3 separate regions of the Homo sapiens genome follow, and regions 2 and 3 are each linked to region 1. The links are contacts of gene promoters, found by promoter capture Hi-C in blood cells and fetal thymus (Javierre and others, 2016). All regions are on one chromosome and are shown on one strand. Each heading gives the region's core, a stretch centred on a gene start or on the middle of the fragment in contact. The rest is flanking DNA. Distances are from core to core; before and after follow the strand shown. Region 1 holds the start of MTHFD2 (methylenetetrahydrofolate dehydrogenase (NADP+ dependent) 2, methenyltetrahydrofolate cyclohydrolase). Region 2 holds the start of SLC4A5 (solute carrier family 4 member 5). Region 3 overlaps TET3 (tet methylcytosine dioxygenase 3).

Region 1 (2,727 bases), core at 120-2,619:
GATCACGTGGTTGAAGCAGTAACTGTCATGTTTCTTCACTGTAAATTTACCATTTTCCTTTCCTTCCTGGAGGCTAGAAGTAAAGGTCAAGGTGTTGACAGGATTGGTTTCCCCTGTTCTTTGTTTGTTTGTTTTGTTTTTTGAGACAGAGTCTTTTTGTTGCCCAGGCTGAAGTGCAGTGGCACAGTCTCGGCTCCCTGCAACCTCTGCCTCCCAGATTCAAGCGATTCTCATGCCTCAGTCTCCCCAGTAGCTGGGATTACAGCGTCCGCCACGATGCTCAGATAATTTTTTGTGTTTTTAGTAGAGACGGGGGTTTCAACACATTGGCCAGGCTGGTCTCGAACTCCTGGCCTCAGGTGATCCGTCCGCCTTGGCCTCCCAAAGAGCTGGGGATTACAGAAGTGAGCCACCGCGCCCTGCCCTCCTTAAGTTTCCTTGCGGGAGAGATACTTTGAGACTATGCAAAAAGTTTGCGGGAAAAAATACAGGAAGCCCAGTTGAATCTGAATTCCAGATAAGCCATAAATAAAGTATAAATATGACCTCCCAAAGTGTTTATCTAAAATTCTGATTTGATTGGGCATCTTGTGTTTTTATTTGCTAGATCTGGCAACCCTATATGTAAATATCTTGCTCCTCATCCAACTTTCACCCAGTTGTTTTGACATCTATTGCTGCTTCTGAATCAGGGTTGCACATGCAACCCTGACGTCTGTCTCTGAATATCTTTTATGATTTTACTTTTTTTGTTGTTGTTTTGAGATATGGTCTCACTCTCGTCGCCCAGGCTGGAGTGCAGTGGCGCGCCTTCAGCTCACTGCAGCCTCAACCTCCTGAACTCAGGTGATCCTTCCACCTCAGCCTCCCCAGTAGCTGGTACTGTAGTCACGCGCCACCATGTACTGATTTTGGAAAATGGTGATTTTCTAACTCCATCATTCCTTTTACTTCTGTTCGTTGGCATTCTATCAGCTTGTCTTTTCATCCACCCTTTACAGTGCTTGGCACACAGTAGGCGCTCATATAATTGTTCAACGAATGAATGAATGAACTTTTCTCTTGTGTTGTCCGGCCTTCGGTGACACTAGCGGCGTCAGGCAGGAGTTTGACTTCCTCAGCCTATCATGGCACGTTGCCGAGGCTTCAGCGCCTTACAGGACCTCGCTCCAGGCTCTTCTGGCTCCAATCAAAAGCAGGGCTCTTTCGGACTTCGCTTACGTTTAATAAAGAAAACCGGTTGGCCCCTTCGGCTCCACCTGGCTCAACAGACAGCCAGTGGCATGCGGCAGGGACCAATGGGTGGCGGAGGGAGGCGGGGCCTGCCACGAGGCCGCAGTATAACCGCGTGGCCCGCGCGCGCGCTTCCCTCCCGGCGCAGTCACCGGCGCGGTCTATGGCTGCGACTTCTCTAATGTCTGCTTTGGCTGCCCGGCTGCTGCAGCCCGCGCACAGCTGCTCCCTTCGCCTTCGCCCTTTCCACCTCGCGGCAGTTCGGTAAGAGGGTCACAGAGCTCGGTCAGCGCGGAAAGCTGAGGGGAACGGAGGGCGAGGGGCACGCCGGGCCCCCGAGGGACACCGAGGGAAGTCCTTCCCGAACATCTCCGCCCCGGCGGTGGTGGCCGCTGAGGGGTGTGGCGGGGCGACGTGGCACCGAGCGCCGCCGCAGCTCTCGACTGGGGCGCTTCCTCGGCGCGGAGGGCTGGTACCCGAAGCCCGCCTTTCGGAGGGAGCCGCTCTCCTGCGACTCGGGGCGTCGCCGGGGCCCGTGGCCAGTCGGCGGGCGGGACGGGGGTGGCGTGCGGAACGCGAAGGCATCAGTTTACGCGGAGCCTTCCGACAGCGCCGGCCGCCTCTGGCTGGGATGCTGAGAGTCGTCTGGGGGAGAACAGGCGAGGGTTCCAAAAGAGCAGCCCTCGGCGAGTTGTCCTTGCGGGGACCCTAGCGGCGGAGGGCGCTGCTGCAGCTGATGAAATCGCGGAGCCGACTTGCTCGGGGTCCCCGCGCCGCCCTCCTCCCTCCGCCGGTGGGAGTGGCCCGCGCTGCCTCCGCTCTGCCAGGAACATGAACGGACTCTGGGCACCCTAGCTTTGGCTGCAGCCCACCAGAGCCTGTCAGTGCCGGGCTGCGTACATAGAGGTGGCAAACATCCGGGAGGCTCCCAGGGCCTTAGGGAAAGGGGGAATGGAGAGTGACAAGTACCCATATTTCAGCGGTACTTGCAGAATTTCAGTTTTACAAGATGAAGAGTTCTGAAGATGGATGGTGGTGATGGTTGCACAACATATGAACGTATTTAATACCACTGAACTGCACTTAAAAATGGTTAAGATGGGCCGGGCGTGGTGACACGCGCCGAGGCTGAGGCACGAGAATCGCTTGAGCCCAGGAGTTCGAGGCTGCAGTGAGCCGTGATTGCACCACTGCCCTCCAGTCTGGGCGACAGAGCGAGACCCTGTCTCAAAAAAAAAAAAAAAAAAAAAAGTTGATAAGGTTTATGTTATGTGAATTTTACCACAATAACAAAATTGGGAAAAATATACAGGGGAGGAGGAAAGGAAAAGCTCTGTTTGCATTTTTGGGTTTCCTTGGGAAGGTGATTTGGTCGGTCATTAGAGCGCTGGCATTGTTGGCATTGTTAGAGCCCTGCACCTTACAACATCAGCCCCTTCTTTTTTTCATCTAACGTTCACTGTGTACCAGACACTATGCCAAGCTGTGCGAATT
Region 2 (2,727 bases), core at 76-2,575, 140 kb after region 1:
AGTAGCTCAAGAAACAAAGTTTTCTACAGATGAAGGATGAGGGAAGGAAACCCAAGACCAGTTGATTCTGGTTTGGGAAATGATAACACTGGAGAACACACTCTACTATCTGTTTCTTGTGACATCCTTTGTGCTAAAGTTATCTCCTTTGTTGGCATGGCCACCATCCCTACTTCTAGTGCAGTGGAGATGTATGAGTGTCTCCATTGCTAAGTGTTTAGTTACTCAAGATAAACTTGACTGGAGAGGGTGTGGGCAGGCATTCAGTCAAGCAACAAGCCACTCACTGAGTGCCACCAATGGTGTGGGAAAAGATGACTCTCCTTAGACTGGTCCATCCAAAATAAAGGAGGTGGGGAGAGCATACCTGGGTGGTCTTCAGGGTACTCCTGGAAACATCCATCAGCTCATGAGCTCACAGCTGAATTCCAAATCCTGGGATGCCTGCTTGGAGGGAGGGTAAAACACCATTTCTCAGGGACAGAAGCCCACAAAGCTAAGGGCACTGGGTTTCTAAGTCAGGATTTCATCACGGCTGGATGACCCTTTTTTAAGGAAAGCCAGCTGATCTCCAGGACTCCTGATACATAAGAGCTATGCAGTCTGTCACTTCTAGGGAGAGAGATGGGGACTAGCTCTGGTTCCTCATGCGTTCCTTCCCTCTCACTCCCTAAAGACCTCAAGAAACAGATCCTTGGTAACAATGCCTTCTTTGGGCCAGAAAGCTTAGTTGAAGTGTGGATTCTTATACAAGTCTCATGTTTTCTGGACTCCTAGGAGACTCAGAGGAGACACCATAGGTAACCCTTATTGAACTGGAAGAAGTGTGAAGTACTATCAACCACTGAGACTCCCATGGCTCAAGAATATGCACAGAGGTCTAACTAGATATAGGTCTCAGCCCCTGACTTTAGAAGTCTGACATTCCACAGATATGCACACACTACACGCTCCCCTCACAGAGGAAACTGGAGTAGGGGGACACAGCAGAACAAAATCGCAACACTACTACAGGAAAACCTCGTCATTCCGTTACTTGTCCTTTGCTATGTTGGAATACTTATAGATTAGTTTCAACAATCAGGTTACTCCTTATCTTTGCTCTAAGTCTTGTACAGGCCTTTAGCAAAAAGCAATAAAATTCTCATCTGACTCTTGGTGGGCTGGGGAATCTGCCTATTCTATTCAGTTGGTTCACTCACATCTCCAAACCAGAACCTACAACCACTCTGTAACTTTATTTATGTAAAATCCACTCTACTTACCCCAGTGCAGTGGCCTGTGGCTCCTGGGCCCTGACTCCAATTCCTTTAGGGTGGACCTTGCAGTTGGAACCATCCACCTCTCGTTTTTTCTATCTCTGCTATTAACATAGCCCCTCCTCTATTGCCTCACCAACTATTTTCAAACCAAAAAGTCTTTGTCTATTCATAGCCACTGTAAAAGTAACATTCATTTTTCTGTTTTTTAATCTAATGTCTGCGTCTTCAGTGGTTCTCACTGGCTAATCTAATCAGTGTGTTCTAGGGAGGTTTATTCCTTGCCTGTTCAGCTTGTCCCAGCACAACAAAGGTAAGTCATTTGCCTGGGGAGAATCAGCTCTTTTAAATCAGACAATCCTCAGGAAAGATGTCAGGACTTTTGCCTCTTTTCTTCATGGGACTGAGATTCAGGAGAACATTCCACATTCCACTGCCACACAGCTCTGCAAACCCCAAATCCTGACTCTCCGAAGAAGGATATGGGCAAGGAAAACAAAGAAGGCATTTGAAAAAACCAAACCTTGCAAGAAAAACTTTGCGTACTTGGTGATTTTTCCAGGTTTATCCTGACTTTTGGCCTCTGTTTTTATGAATTCCATTTTTGTTTAAGTGAAAAAGATACGGTGAGAGAGACATAGTGGAAAATGGGAAGTTTGGAGGAAGATGGGAAGGAAGAAGCCAGTGAGTAGGAAGTGAGAATCGGGAGTGGAGGGAGTGAGGGACGCGGTGCTGAGCGATGGGGAAGAGAAGCATGCCAGGAAGGCGCAGCGTCTCTGGGCACCCAGCATGGGGCCTGGTATATGCACACATTTCCCCTCATTGAACTCTCAACAGTCCAGTGGGGAGAGCATTCTCGTCCCCAACCTTACAGAGCTGGAACAGAAGCTCAGAGACTTACAGACAGGAAGAAAAGTAGGAGCTGGAAGCCCCATTAAAAAAGCAACTCTACCCCTCTTCTTCCAGTCTCTTCTGTGGCTTCTCTAAGGGTCTTCAGCCTCCTTATTTCAGGGTTGACCTTCTCTTTCAGATAGGAAATTTATCATCTGGTTGGATATCCTCACTTTCTTCCTAGATCACGTGGAGTTTTCCCTTAGTGGAAAAGCCTCATTCCTGGATCTAGAGCCTGCTGGTGGCAGACATGTAAAAAACATGTTTCGGAGGCCATGCCCAAGCCAACACATTAACCCAACATTATAGTTTCTGTTAATAATCCATGGAATCAAAGACAGGCAAGACTAGGGAGATCAACACATGCTGGGTCACCAGAGGCTTTCCTGGTTTTAGCACAGAAGATCTGTGACCCAGGAAACCCCTTAGTCCCAGGAAGATCAGCACAGCCTAGGCCAGAAACAGTTTCGGGCCTTAGGGAATTTCCAGCTGGTTGGGGATTCAACAAATTCAGAAGAGTGTGAGGCTCCAAAAAGAAGCACAAAGGGAGGGAAGGGTTCAGTGAAAGAAAAATCAC
Region 3 (2,727 bases), core at 167-2,666, 140 kb before region 1:
CAAGGTCTCTCTTTGTTGCCCAGGCTAGTCTCCCACCTTGGCCTCTCAGCATGCTGGGATTGCAGGTGTGAGCCACCATGCCTGGCCCTGTGTTATCTGTATGTATGTACATTTGTTATCTGCCCCGTCGTTCATTCTCATAGCTGTACAGCATTCCATTTTTTGAATACACCACAGTGTATCCAGTAGGTCACTGATGGTCTTTTGGGTTGTTTCCAACTTGGGGTTATTATGAATCATGCTGATATAAGACATTCTTATACCTGTCTCTTGGTGCATTTATGTATACATGTGTATACTTAGGTATTTACCTAGGACTGAAATTGTGTGTGTTGAGCTTTAGTAGGTACCATTGGTCTTTCAAAGTGGTTGTTACAGTTTAAGCTCCCACCAGCATTGCTCCACGTTCTCACCAGCAAATGGTGCCATCCAGTCTTTGCCATTGTGGTAGATGTATAATAGTATCTCACTGTGGGTTTAATTTGAATTTCCCTGATGCCTAATGAGGGTGAGCAGTTTTTCATATGCCGTCTTTTGTGGAGTTCCTGTTCAAGTCATTTCTGTTCAAGTTCCGGTTCAAGTCATTCAAGTTGCTGTTCAAGCCCATTTCTGTATTGTTTTTCTTATTGAGTGGTAAGGGTTCTTTATTTTGGATATATGGGTTCTTAGCTGGATACGTGTATTGCAGTTCTCAGAGTAGAGTATTGAGATTAAAAAGTTTGATCCAAGTTCGACTTACTTAAGTCACCATCCATATGTAAAGTCTTCATAAAAACATTTTTTTTTAAATTTATTATTATTTTTTTTTATTGATCATTCTTGGGTGTTTCTCGCAGAGGGGGATTTGGCAGGGTCATAGGACAATAGTGGAGGGAAGGTCAGCAGATAAACAAGTGAACAAAGGTCTCTGGTTTTCCTAGGCAGAGGACCCTGCGGCCTTCCGCAGTGTTTGTGTCCCTGGGTACTTGAGATTAGGGAGTGGTGATGACTCTTAGCGAGCATGCTGCCTTCAAGCATCTGTTTAACAAAGCACATCTTGCACCGCCCTTAATCCATTTAACCCTGAGTGGACATAGCACATGTTTCAGAGAGCACAGGGTTGGGGGTAAGGTCACAGATCAACAGGATAAGTATTTTTCTTAGTACAGAACAAAGTGAAAAGTCTCCCATGTCTACCTCTTTCTACACAGACACAGCAACCATCCGATTTCTCAATCTTTTCCCCACCTTTCCCCCCTTTCTATTCCACAAAACCGCCACTGTCATCATGGCCCGTTCTCAATGAGCTGTTGGGCACACCTCCCAGACGGGGTGGTGGCCGGGCAGAGGGGCTCCTCACTTCCCAGTAGGGGCGGCCGGGCAGAGGCGCCCCTCACCTACCGGACGGGGCGGCCGGCCGGGCGGGGGGCTGACCCCCCCCACTTCCCTCCCGGACGGGGCGGCCGGCCGGGCGGGGGGCTGACCCCCCCACCTCCCTCCCGGACGGGGTGGCTGGCCGGGCGGGGGGCTGACCCCCCCACTTCCCTCCCGGATGGGGCGGCTGGCCAGGCAGAGGGGCTCCTCACTTCCCAGTAGGGGCGGCCGGGCAGAGGCGCCCCTCACCTCCCGGACGGGGCGGCTGGCCGGGTGGGGGGCTGACCCCCCCACCTCCCTCCCGGACGGGGCGGCTGGCAGGGCGGGGGGCTGACCCCCCCACCTCCCTCCCGGACGGGGCGGCTGGCAGGGCGGGGGACTGACCCCCCCACCTCCTTCCCGGACGGGGCGGCTGGCTGGGCAGAGGGGCTCCTCACTTCCCAGTAGGGGCGGCCGGGCAGAGGCGCCCCTCACCTCCCGGACGGGGCGGCTGGCCGGGCGGGGGGCTGACCCCCCCCACCTCCCTCCCAGACGGGGTGGCTGTCAGGCAGAGACGCTCCTCACTTCCCAGACGGGGTGGCTGCCGGGCGGAGGGGCTCCTCACTTCTCAGACGGGGCAGCTGCCGGGCGGAGGGGCTCCTCACTTCTCAGACGGGGCGGCCGGGCAGAGACGCTCCTCACCTCCCAGACGGGGTCGCGGCCGGGTAGAGGCGCTCCTCACATCTCAGACGATGGGCGGCCGGGCAGAGACGCTCCTCACTTCCTACATGGGATGGCGGCCGGGAAGAGGCGCTCCTCACTTCCTAGATGGGATGGCGGCCGGGCAGAGATGCTCCTCACTTTCCAGACTGGGCAGCCAGGCAGAGGGGCTCCTCACGTCCCAGACAATGGGCGACCAGGCAGAGACGCTCCTCACTTCCCAGACGGGGTGGCGGCCGGGCAGAGGCTGCAGTCTCGGCACTTTGGGAGGCCAAGGCAGGTGGCTGGGAGGTGGAGGTTGTAGCGAGCCGAGAGCACGCCACTGCACTCCAGCCTGGGCACCATTGAGCACTGAGTGAACCAGACTCCGTCTGCAATCCCGGCACCTCGGGAGGCCGAGGCTGGCGGATCACTCGCGGTTAGGAGCTGGAGACCAGCCCGGCCAACACAGCGAAACCCCGTCTCCACCAAAAAAAATCCATAAAAACATTTTTAAATATGCAAGAACTCAAATTTTCTAGAGATGAATCAAAATAATAATAGATGGGGAAGTTGTAGTATGGAGAGGCTGGCGATGAACACTAAATCTGTTCAAATGTAAAGTCTAACTTTAAATGACAGTTATTTTTCTAAAACAAAAGATATTTACTTAAACTCTACTTAAGATATATTTTT

The links. Contacts are between HindIII fragments. The CHiCAGO score rates a contact against its expected background, and 5 or more counts as called.
Region 2: a contact is called between the fragment with the promoter of SLC4A5 here and the fragment with the promoter of MTHFD2 in region 1, in 1 of 17 cell types (naive CD4 T cells). The highest score is 6.0, in naive CD4 T cells.
Region 3: a fragment that was not itself captured here is called in contact with the fragment with the promoter of MTHFD2 in region 1 in 1 of 17 cell types (activated CD4 T cells); the score reaches 5.4 in activated CD4 T cells.

What each region holds. Positions count from the first base shown.
Region 1 is chr2:74,197,246-74,199,972 of GRCh38, forward strand. It overlaps MTHFD2 (methylenetetrahydrofolate dehydrogenase (NADP+ dependent) 2, methenyltetrahydrofolate cyclohydrolase), which reads left to right and starts at 1,370. Exons shown (of 8, transcript NM_006636.4): 1 at 1,370-1,497. The coding sequence starts at 1,397. RefSeq lists an enhancer at 1,032-1,590 and silencers at 1,299-1,438, 1,629-1,908, 2,039-2,128. The HindIII fragment of the contact is 3,357 bases long and covers 1-2,727 here.
Region 2 is chr2:74,342,091-74,344,817 of GRCh38, forward strand. It overlaps SLC4A5 (solute carrier family 4 member 5), which reads right to left and starts at 1,326. Exons shown (of 31, transcript NM_133478.3): 1 at 1,266-1,326; 2 at 368-444. The HindIII fragment of the contact is 2,074 bases long and covers 724-2,727 here.
Region 3 is chr2:74,059,736-74,062,462 of GRCh38, forward strand. All of the region lies in intron 4 of TET3 (tet methylcytosine dioxygenase 3), which reads left to right. Among named protein-coding and RNA genes, the nearest start is that of TET3, 76 kb to the left of the region's middle. The HindIII fragment of the contact is 6,470 bases long and covers 1-2,727 here.